2 separate regions of the Homo sapiens genome follow, and region 1 is linked to region 2. The links are contacts of gene promoters, found by promoter capture Hi-C in human tissues and cell types (Jung and others, 2019). All regions are on one chromosome and are shown on one strand. Each heading gives the region's core, a stretch centred on a gene start or on the middle of the fragment in contact. The rest is flanking DNA. Distances are from core to core; before and after follow the strand shown. Region 1 overlaps CBFB (core-binding factor subunit beta). Region 2 holds the start of HSF4 (heat shock transcription factor 4).

Evidence for each region. Contacts are between HindIII fragments. The study calls those that stand out against the background at their distance.
Region 1: a fragment that was not itself captured here is called in contact with the fragment with the promoter of HSF4 in region 2 in 6 of the 25 tissues and cell types used here (H1 embryonic stem cells, IMR-90 fibroblasts, dorsolateral prefrontal cortex and 3 more).

What each region holds. Positions count from the first base shown.
Region 1 is chr16:67,100,432-67,106,065 of GRCh38, forward strand. It overlaps CBFB (core-binding factor subunit beta), which reads left to right. Exons shown (of 6, transcript NM_022845.3): 6 at 1-627. Among named protein-coding and RNA genes, the nearest start is that of PHAF1, 6.7 kb to the right of the region's middle. The HindIII fragment of the contact is 4,683 bases long and covers 1-4,481 here.
Region 2 is chr16:67,160,535-67,166,031 of GRCh38, forward strand. HSF4 (heat shock transcription factor 4) reads left to right here and starts at 4,211. Exons shown (of 13, transcript NM_001374675.1): 1 at 4,211-4,400; 2 at 4,988-5,096; 3 at 5,185-5,312; 4 at 5,412-5,497. The coding sequence starts at 4,278. FBXL8 (F-box and leucine rich repeat protein 8) reads left to right here. Exons shown (of 3, transcript NM_018378.3): 2 at 1,201-1,403; 3 at 2,314-3,640. The coding sequence starts at 1,252. The coding sequence ends at 3,286. RefSeq lists silencers at 564-653, 2,931-3,050, 4,032-4,326, 4,076-4,315 and enhancers at 1,351-1,863, 1,937-2,885, 2,481-2,580, 2,886-3,834. The HindIII fragment of the contact is 14,459 bases long and covers 1-5,497 here.

The DNA.
Region 1 (5,634 bases), core at 890-3,389, 62 kb before region 2:
TAATGCGTCATTAAAGGCCATGCTGATCTTGCATAACTATAAGTACTATGAATGAATTTGGTTGGTTTTGGTGTTGTACAGCTCACATGTTTACACACTCAGTGCCCTAATTTCCCCTGAGGGAATCGCTTTTTAAGTGATCCTTACAGTGGTGTTTTATGTTACTTTATTACAGAGCTCCTTGGTTTTTTACTTCTGCACTTAAATTTTTTTAAATAACATGATGATGGTACATTTTCCTCTATTGTCTAGCTAAGGGCTTTCGGTCCACCAGTAAATAAGATCAAATGCTCTTAAATGTTCCTGTTACCATCCTAATGTAAATACTGGATTTTTCTGTCATTTAGCACCATGCTGCTTCTGTCTGTCTTAATGCTGGCATTAAGATCATGAGCCCTTTTTCTCCAGTAGTACAGGCTTTGAAAACTACTTCTATTAAGTTATTGATGCAATTTGATATTTTTTCATAATCTATATTTAAACAAAATTACATCATTGCATCATCTTTTCTAAATTCATCTCCATTAAAACTTGCCTTAAGCTACCAGATTGCTTTTGCCACCATTGGCCATACTGTGTGTTTGTTTGTTTAATTTACTTTCACAATAAACTTCTGTGTAGTAAAAACAGGGTCTTGGCTCTTTCTTGACCTAACCCAGTAATTTCTAAGAAAGCAACAACAGTGGCATCTAGTGGTAATTTCTGTTGATTCCAAAGAAGACTACTTTAAATATAGGTATCACAAGGTATACAAATCCCCCAGTGTATATTATGGTTTTCAAGAAATCTGGCTTGATTTACCCATCCTGTGAGATATGACCATAAAGTAGTGATGTTGGGAGAAAGAATTTTAAATTACACATCCAAATTAGTTCCATCTTTCAAGCTAGTTGTTTTGGAAATATACAGCCGTTTTGATTGTGCTGGTGTTATATCAAACATTCTTAAGACTCCTGGCATTTTCCTACAACAGAAAAGTAAGCCCTTTTCCTTGAAAGTATGCCTTAAGCTTGACACATGATAAACAGATTCACTCATTAACCACAAGACTTACTGCAAATGACAAAAATGCCTTTAAATTCTGAATTGACACCATTAAGGGAAATTCCAAAGAGTAGGATTCATGCTCTGAGAGTTAATTTCAAAAAATTGAGCAGTAACAGCATGGTTTTAGTAAGTATATCACTTCTAGAAACATAATTGGATATGCTAGCTCGGGGCTGCTTGGTGAAAAATATCTTACTTGATTTATGCCTCATTTGGCAATGAGGAGCTTTTCAATCTATAAACCATTGTATTATCCATAACACATTACCCCAAAACTTAGCAGCTTAAAACAATAAATACGTATTATCCCACAGGTGAGTCACAAATCTGGAAGTAGCTAAGATCAATGGTTCTGGTTCAGAGTTCCTCATAAGGTTAGAGTCATCCTGGGCTACAGTCATCTCAAGGATTGACTGGATGAAAGATCCCCTTTCAAACCCACTAATGTGGTCACTGACTGGCCTCGGTTCTTTGCAGCTTGCTAGATGAAAGGCAGATGTTCCTTGCTAGATGTTGGACAGAGACCTGCTTCCATTTCATGCCCAGCTGGGTCTTTCCATAGGACAGTGCACAGCAGGGTAGCTGGCTTCCCCCAAGGCAAGTGATCCAAGAGAGCGCACACCCAAGTTGAAAGCACAGTCTTTTTTTTTTTTTTTTTTTTTTTTTTTTTGAGATGGAGTCTCGCTCTGTTGCCTAGACTGACTGGACTGCAGTGCTGCAATCTCAGCTCACTGCAACCTCCCCCTCCCGGGTTCAAGCGATTCTCCTGCCTCAGCCTCCCACGTAGCTGGGATTACAGGTGCCCATCAACATGCCCGGCTAATTTTTGTATTTTTCATAGAGACGGGGTTTCACCATGTTGGCCAGGCTGGTCTCAAATTCCTGACCTCAAGTGATTCGTCCGCCTCGGCATCCCAAAGTGCTGAGATTACAGGTGTGAGCCACCATGCCCAGCCAAAAGCACAGTCTTAGAACTGAATCTTGGGCTGCCATATTGTATGTTAGAATCAAGTCACTGGGTCTGGTCCACACTCAAAGGGGGAGGAATATTAAGCTTCATCTGTTGAAGGCGGGGATGTCAAAGCATTTGTGGACATCTTTCTAAACCACCATGGTGATATTACCAAATATACGTAACTGAGTATAAGATACCTTTGGTGTTTTGCCGGGCGCGGTGGCTCACACCTGTAATCCCAGCACTTTGGGAGGCCGAGGCAGGCAGATCATGAGGTCAGGAGATCGAGACCATCCTGGTTAACGGTGAAACCCCGTCTCTACTAAAAATACAAAAAATTAGACGGGTGTGGTGGCGGGCGCCTGTAGTCCCAGCTACTCGGGAGGCTGAGGCAGGAGAATGGTGCGAACCCAGGAGGTGGAGCTTGCAGTGAGCCAAGATCGCACCACTGCACTCCAGCCTGGGCAACAGGGCGAGACTCCATCTCAAAAAAAAAAGATACCTTTGGTGTTTTAATCTAAACATTCTTTAAAGGTAAGATTTCAGTCTTGCAGATTTGAATACATGATTCCCCCTAGATAGCATCAACCCCTTTTCTTGCATCACCATCATATATTCATATATGGCATTTCAGAAATGTTCCAAAGCTAAAAAATGACAGTCACAGGGTGAAATCATGGATGGAAATGGCAGTTTAGTTTGTTTAAATATGGAATATTCTGAAACAGATAAGTCACTGTTTTAGTCAACTCCCAGCTTTTGGTTAGAAAATTTAAGCAACTTAGAATTAAGGTCGTTATTGGCCTCATTCAGATTTCAGAAATGTTGAGGAGATGTTGTAGATAAAAATAAAAGGCCAGGCACAGTAGCTCATATCTGTAATCCCAGCACTTTGGGGGGCTGAGGCAGGAGGATTGCTTGAGGCCAGGAGCTCAAGACCAGCCTGGGCAAGATAGCAAGACCTTCATCTGCACAAAAATATTTTTCTTAATTAGCCAGGCATGGTGGTGCACACCTCTAAGTCCCAGCTACTTGGGAGGCTGGAGTGGGAAGATCGCATGAGCCGAGGATTTTGAGGTTGCAGTGAGCTATGATCTTGCCACCGCACTCCATCCTGGGCCACCAGAGCAAGATATTACCTATAAAAATAAAAATGGAAAATGTTGAAGTTCTATTTTTTTTTTGGAGACTAAAAGTATGGTTATCATTTAGGGGGGGAAATATCCAGTGTCCAAAATAAACATGTTCCCTGCTCACAAGGAATCTACAGTCTAGCTAAAAAGCTGACCAAAGGCAGTAACACTGTTTAAGTTACATTAGAAGTACTGGCTCTTATAGTACATCTATTCTAGTCTGGGTGGTGAATAAAAGCTTCCCTAAAGAGATGTTTTGAGGGTGGGTGCGGTGGCTCACGCCTGTAATCCCAGCACTTTGGGAGGCCGAGGCGGGTGGATCACAAGGTCAGGAGATCAAGACCATCCTGGCTAACATGGTGAAACCCCGTCTCTACTAAAAAATACAAAAAATTAGCTGGGCGTGGTGGCGGGCGCCTGTAGTCCCAGCTACTTGGGAGGCTGAGGCAAGAGAATGGCATGCACCCAGCAGGCGGAGCTTGCAGCGAGCCGAGATTGCACCACTGCACTCCAGCCTGGGCGAAAGAGTGAAACTCCGTCTCAAAAATAAAAAAAGAGATGTTTGAGCTAAGATCTGAAGGATGGCAGACCTTAAGCTAGCTAGAGAAGGTATTGCAGGTAGCTAGCCAATAGCTTGGCAAGTTTGAGAAGCTAAGAGCAGCTGAGTATGACTGGAACAGAAAAGAGGGGGCTGCAGCAGTGAGATGAATCCAGAAGGGCAGATTCCACCCAGCAGAGGGCAGGGTAAGAGTCACAAGCAGTGCTGGACTGGCCTTTCCAACCGTGTTAAATAAAACATTTGGACCATTCCCAAGGGTGAACAGGAAGCCATTGAGGGCTTATGACCTTGATGGAATCGGTGCTTGAGAAAACTCAATTTTGTTTGGGGAGAATAAGACTGGAGTCAGAAACTTGGTCCCACTGATCATACGATATAGTAACACAGGAAGATTAAGGGTAGCTTTGTTGGCATGGAGACATTTCAAAGCTATAAACAGTACAGGAGGCATAATTGACAGTTTTCCCAATTTCTCTTATCAGTCAGGATAGGCTGGTTATGTTGCTTTGTTTTGTTTGTTTGTTTTTTGAGATGGAGTCTCATTCTGTTGCCCAGACTGGAGTGCAGTGGTTCAATCTCTCCTCACTGCAACGTCCGCCTCCTGGGTTCAAGCAACTGTCGTGTCTCAGCCTCCCGAGTAGCTGGGATGACAGGTGCCCGCTAATTTTTTGTATTTTTAGTAGAGATGGGGTTTCATCATGTTGACCAGGCTGGTCTTGAACTCCTAACCTCAGGTGATCCACCCGCATCGGCCTCCCAAAGTGTAGGGATTACAGGCGTGAGCCACCACGCCTGGGCTGGTGTGTTGCTTTAAAACACCAAAAAAATTTATTGGCTTAAAGATTTATGTCTTATATGCTAAATACTCATCAGGGGTTGACCTAGGCTAACAAAGCAGAACTGGAGGACTGCCAGCCATTGTGACAGAACCAAGAAAGAAAACAGGTAATGAAACAGGCATTGGCTTTGAAAACTCACCTGAAATTGATACACGTGACTTCTGTTTTCAATGGACCAAGCAATTCACAGCCACACCCAACTTCAGTTGCGCAGGGAAATGCAACCCTTTTTGCCCAGGAGTCAGAATATTTGTGAATTGCTCTGATGACTACAACAGGCCACTGTTTCAATTATTTTACTTTCCTTCCTTCAAGAAAATACACATCATGGAAGAAAACCTAAAAGTGCCTGCTAGTCAGGCAATTGAGCTAAAATTGTGTGTGGAGACCAGGATCTACGCACCCAGTACACAGTGGTGGGACAGGGACAGAAAAATTGCAGGAAGCACTTGCCTTCAGAAAGGGGAAGAATGAAGTCACCGGTCAGTAACAATTATGAAATGACACTGGAAACCATTTGAGGGCCCTCTGCCCTAACAGAGGGGAGTGTTCTTTGTAAGGCCTATTAGGATGGGTTCCCTGCTCCACCATTTTCCATGACTTTTAGCCCCATCCCTCATTTGCTGTACACATTACCTGTCATTCCTGCTTTCAAACTGGCTTTAAAAAAAAAAATCTAACTGGGCGCGGTGGCTCACACCTGTAATCCCAGCACTTTAGGAGGCTGAGGCAGGTGGATCACCTAAAGACAGGAGTTCAAGACCAGCCTGGCCAACATGGTGAAACCTCGTCTCTACTAAAAATACAAAAATTAGCTGGGCATGGTGGCACGTGCCTGTAATCCTAGCTACTGGGGAGGCTGAAGCAGGAGAATCGCTTGAACCTGGGAGGCGGAGGTTGCAGTGAGCCGAGATCTCACCACTGCACTCCAGCCTGGGCAACAGAGTGAGACTCCGTCTCAAAAAAAAAAAAGAAAAAAAAATAACTTGGCAAATGCAATTAATAAATAACCATGGTACTAAGATTGTTTTCCAAGTTCTTCAAGTAATGTTTCAAGCTTGTTACATTTCTTCCCTTCCAAGTTATCACGTGACAGTTTTA
Region 2 (5,497 bases), core at 2,961-5,460:
ACCCCGTCTCTACTAAAAATACAAAAATTAGCCCGGCGAGGTGGCGCGCGCCTGGAGTCCCAGCTACTCGGGAGGCTGAGGCAGAAGAATCGCTTGAACCCGCGAGGCGGAGTTTGCAGTGAGCCGAGATCTCGCCACTGCACTCCAGCCTGGGCGACACAGCTAGATTCCGTCTCAAAACAAAACAAAACAAAAACAAACAGGATTGGCAACTTCAAAGAGGACGCACACTTTCCAGTAACCCATCCCCCTCTAAAGGCTGCGCTCCAGGGTGGGTCTGCGGAGTTCCAGCCGAACCCAAATTGCTCAGCGGGAGCCAGGGCTGCTCAGGGGTCGGAACTTAAATCTTGAGCCCCTCAGGCCCCAGAACCGTCAGGTCCCAGAGACCCAAGTTTTTTTTCATCCAGTGGGGCTGTCTTAGGAAGCACCCGGGACATCTCCCCGGCGAGGCGGAGGCGGGGAAGGAGCCTCCCCTCCAGGGGTGGATCCAGCTTTGCCCCGCCCACGCCTCGCTTCCTGATTGGCTCATGGTCCCTGACAAAGAAAAGCCTACATTAACGCTCCCGCCTTATTAACCCTGTAGTCACTTTCTACTAACCGGCGGGGTTAAGATGGGGTTTCTCAGGCCGGGCGCGGTGGCTCATGCCCGTAATCCCAGCACTTTGGGAGGCCCAGGCGGGCCGATCGCTTGAGCCTAGGAGTTCGAGGTCAGTCTGGGCAACAAAGCGAGACCTCGTCTCTGCAACAAAATTACAAAAATTAGCCAGGCGTGGTGGCGTGCCCCTGTAGTCCCAGCTACTCGGGAGGCTGAGGTGGGAGGATTGCTTGAGCCCGGGAGACTGAGGGTGCAGTGAGTTGTGATTGCGCCACTGCACTCCAGCCTGGGTAAAGAGCGAGACCCTGTCTCAAAAAAAAAGAAAAAAAAAAAAAAAAGTGGGAGGGGAGTTCTCAACGTGGAACCTGTGGAGTCACAGGGGCTTGTTGAAATGCAGATTCCTGGGCCTTACCCTTTCCGGAGAGCCTGATTTAGTAGGTGAGGCGGTGAAATCTGCTTTGTGAACAAGTTTCGGGGTTATCTGATGCCCCACGCTGTCTGAGAGGCCCTCAGTTCCTCAGGCCACAAGCATTTGTACACCTAAGCTCGGTCTTCCTGCAACACTTTGCGCCTTCCCGACCTCAGAGACGTCCGTCTCTCTCCAGGCCGGAGCTATTGGGAGTGGCGGATCCTCCCACCCCAGCCGGATCTGGGCCATGGCCGAGCCTGGAGAGGGACTGCCAGAGGAGGTGCTGGCACTCATCTTCCGCCACCTGTCCCTGAGAGACCGTGCTGCCGCCGCCAGGGTCTGCAGGGCCTGGGCCGCCGCTGCTACCTGCAGCGCCGTGTGGCACGACACAAAAATCAGGTGAGCCTGCTCCTCCACACTCCTCTCCCCACCGCCCACTCACCTTCTCCGTGGAGTCGTGGGCTAGGTAGATATTCAGGTTGACTCCCCCATATTAAAAAATAATTGCTGGCCGGGCGTGGTGGCTCATGCCTGTAATCCCAGCACTTTGGCAGGCCGAGGCGGGTGGATCACCTGAGGTCAGGAGTTTGAGACCAGCCTGGCCACCATGCTGAAACCCCGTCTCTACTAAAATACAAAAACTAGCCGGGCATGGTGGTGGGCGCCTATAATTCTAGCTACTCGGGAGGCTGAGGCACAAGAATCGCTTGAACCCGGGAGGCAAAGGTTGCAGTGAGCCGAGATGGCACCACTGCACTCCAGCTTGGCGACAGAGTAACAGTTTATCTCAAAATAATAATAATAATTGCTGACGTATTGACTGCCTAGTATATACCAACCATTGTTTTTAAGTGCCTTACATATATTAACTAATTTAATCCTTATGAAAACCTTGTGTGGTAGATAGGTATTATCATTACCTCCATTGCCCAGATAGGAAACTGAGGCAAAGAGACTTAATCACTTCCCACGGGTCACTCAGCTAGGGAATGGCAGAGGCAGAATTCGAACCTAGCAGTCCGGAGGCCATGCCAAGACTCCTTAGAGACAGCTGAGAAAGCCCAGTTCCTAAAATATCATTGGCTCTCCATGTCCAGGTTTCATCCTGTGGCAGACGCCACTGAAATCTTCTAAAAGGATAGGATGCGAGTTCCCTCCTTTGGGGCAACAGTCGTGGTCTGAACAGAGACGTGGGGAGGGAGGCAGGAAATGGGATGGCAGCTGGAACCCCAGCTAAGGGGTGGGTAGAGGCTTCTCCGCTGGTCGCAGGGACTCAGCTGAGGCCTTTTCTGCACGGCTCTAACCCAAGTTGCGAATGTGAGCTGGAAGGCATGCTGCCACCTTATCTGTCCGCCTGCCTCGACCACATTCACAACCTACGGCTGGAATTTGAGCCATCGAGGAAGCCGAGCCGCCGGGCGGCCATCGAGCTGCTGATGGTTCTGGCGGGCCGTGCCCCGGGGCTGCGAGGCCTGCGCCTGGAGTGCCGCGGAGAAAAACCGCTCTTCGACGCGGGCCGCGACGTCCTGGAGGCTGTGCACGCTGTATGCGGGGCGGCCAGCCAGCTACGCCACCTCGACCTGCGGCGCTTGTCCTTCACACTGGACGACGCGCTGGTGCTGCAGGCGGCGCGCAGCTGTCCCGAGCTCCACAGCCTTTTTCTGGACAACAGTACCCTAGTGGGCAGCGTGGGTCCCGGCTCAGTGCTCGAGCTACTGGAGGCCTGCCCGCGCCTGCGCGCTCTCGGCCTGCACCTAGCCAGTTTGTCGCACGCCATCCTCGAAGCACTGGCGGCGCCAGACCGAGCGCCTTTCGCGCTCTTGGCTCTGCGGTGCGCGTGCCCCGAAGATGCACGCGCGTCCCCGCTGCCCAACGAAGCCTGGGTCGCGTTGCGCCGCCGCCACCCTGGGCTGGCAGTGGAGCTGGAGCTGGAGCCCGCGCTGCCCGCTGAGAGCGTGACGCGCGTCCTGCAGCCAGCCGTCCCCGTGGCTGCGCTGCGCCTCAACCTCTCAGGCGACACCGTAGGCCCAGTGCGCTTCGCAGCACACCACTACGCCGCAACCCTGTGCGCGCTCGAGGTGCGCGCAGCCGCTTCGGCCGAGCTGAACGCCGCGCTGGAGGAGCTGGCGGCGCGCTGCGCGGCCCTGCGCGAGGTGCATTGTTTCTGCGTGGTGAGCCACTCGGTGCTGGACGCCTTCCGCGCGCACTGCCCGCGCCTGCGCACCTATACCCTCAAGCTCACGCGCGAGCCGCATCCCTGGAGGCCTACGCTCGTGGCGTGATTGGGCGACTTCTCTCCCCCGTCCCCGTGGACGTAAGCGCTCTGAGAGGGAACGGGGGGGGTGTCCAGGCGCGCCCCGAGTGCTAGTGCCTTCTTTTGGGATTGTTGCCCCCCGGGTCTTTACCGAGTTGGGAACTGTGATGGCATCGGGACCAGTCCTGGGCGCCCTGAGACCACTCGCTGCTCTCACCCTCTGCAGACGCCCCACCCGCTCGGTCCTGGACACACTGCCCCCCTCTCTTGCCTCCACCCCTCTGCGGACTCTGCAGCTCCGCGGCCCCGGCGCAGGGAGAGGGAGGGCACGGGCGCGGGCCGGGCCTCAAGGGTGAGTGTGAAATAAACAAATCCTGCAGTGTTTCTGCGTCCTATTAAAGGCGGGGTCGGATCTGAAAGGGAAGGACAGGGAACGCGCGGGGTACCGGAGGAGCCATCCCGGCAGAGGTTGGGTTTCCTCAAGAGCCTCTGGACGACACAGCTGCGGGGGGTCAGGGTCGGGGCACTCACACCCTTGGAATGACTACGTCCCGGGGTTCGGCGGGAGGGGGCGTGCTTCCCTGCCCCCCCTTCCTATCTGCTTGCCCTGCCTGGGGCTTCACTGTGCCTCTGGCCATTACCTTCTAGGACTTGCCCAGCCCACACCAGGTCGCGCACCGGCGATTTCTCCTGTAGAACAAAGAAGGAAATAGAGGGACCGAGAGGGGTGGGACTCGAACCCAAGTCTCCCACTCATCTCACCCCACCCCACCCCACTCCACCCCACCCCACCCCTCCACTCCACTCCACTCCACACATCCCATCCAGCCAGCCTTTTCTGCCTGCTGGTGCCTCGGCCGCTGTCCGAGCCCCGCCCCGCGGGCTTGCACGTGGCCCCCGCCTGACCCGGCGCCCCGGGGCGGAGTAGGGCGGAGCGGGCGGCAAACGCAGCACTTTCCGCGGCTTTGACGAGCCCGCAGCGGCCGGGCCCGAGCGCAGAGCCGGGCCGAGACTGCACCATGCAGGAAGCGCCAGCTGCGCTGCCCACGGAGCCAGGCCCCAGCCCCGTGCCTGCCTTCCTCGGCAAGCTATGGGCGCTGGTGGGGGACCCAGGCACAGACCACCTGATCCGCTGGAGCCCGGTGAGGGCCGGGGCCCCTCGATTCCCCCTGTGGTCCCGGGGTCCCTCCACGTCAGTGAACACCCATGCCCGCCCAACCCCCTCCTGAGACTGGGCCGTGGATCCCCGGATTTGGCCATTCAGAGAAGTTCACCTTGGAGGGGGTGTGCGAGAGGGGGGTTTCCTCTGCGGCCGAAGAAGGGTTAGGAGCCTGCCTTCTGAAGACCTAGAGTCCGAGGGACCTTCGAGGCCATTTAGTTCCCACCCTACCCCATCCGACAGATGGGAAAACAGAGGCCGGGAGATGGGAAGGGCTGGTCTAGCTCAGGGTCACATTGCGGGGCTGGGAACCCCGTCAGCCTCTCCTTTCTGAGAACTGAGTATGGAGTCAGGGTCTGGCTGGGGGTAGGGACTCACTGTGGTCGCTCCAGGCTAGGCCTCGGAGCCCGTTCTGGCCTGGCCTCGACCCATATCCCCGTAAGCGGCAGGCCTGGACCCAAGAGTGAGCATGAGTGTGTGCGCGCGCTGGAGCGCAGGACTGGCCGTGAGCGGGCACCGCTCACCCTCCTGGTCTCCGCCCGCACGGTGGGCGGGCGGCGTTCTTGGTAGAGCGGGACCAGTTTCCTCGTAAGCGACCAGAGCCGTTTCGCCAAGGAAGTGCTGCCCCAGTATTTCAAGCATAGCAACATGGCGAGCTTCGTGCGCCAACTCAACATGTGTGAGTCCCTACGGCCGGGCGGGGAGCGGGGATGGGGGACTCGGTGCCGGGGATGGGGCGACCCACGCCCCCACGCCCCACTCCCCAGACGGTTTTCGGAAGGTGGTGAGCATCGAGCAGGGCGGCCTGCTTAGGCCGGAGCGCGACCACGTCGAGTTCCAGCACCCGAGCTTCGTGCGCGGCCGCGAGCAGCTACTGGAGCGCGTGCGGCGCAAGGTGGGGGCGGCCTGCGGGAATGAGCAAAGAGGAGGAGGGGTGCTGGGACTGCCTGCCTTGCTCCTGCGACCCAGTCCCGACGGTGCCTCCCGCCTGCAGGTGCCCGCGCTGCGCGGCGACGACGGCCGCTGGCGCCCGGAGGACCTGGGTCGACTACTGGGCGAGGTGCAGGCTTTGCGGGGAGT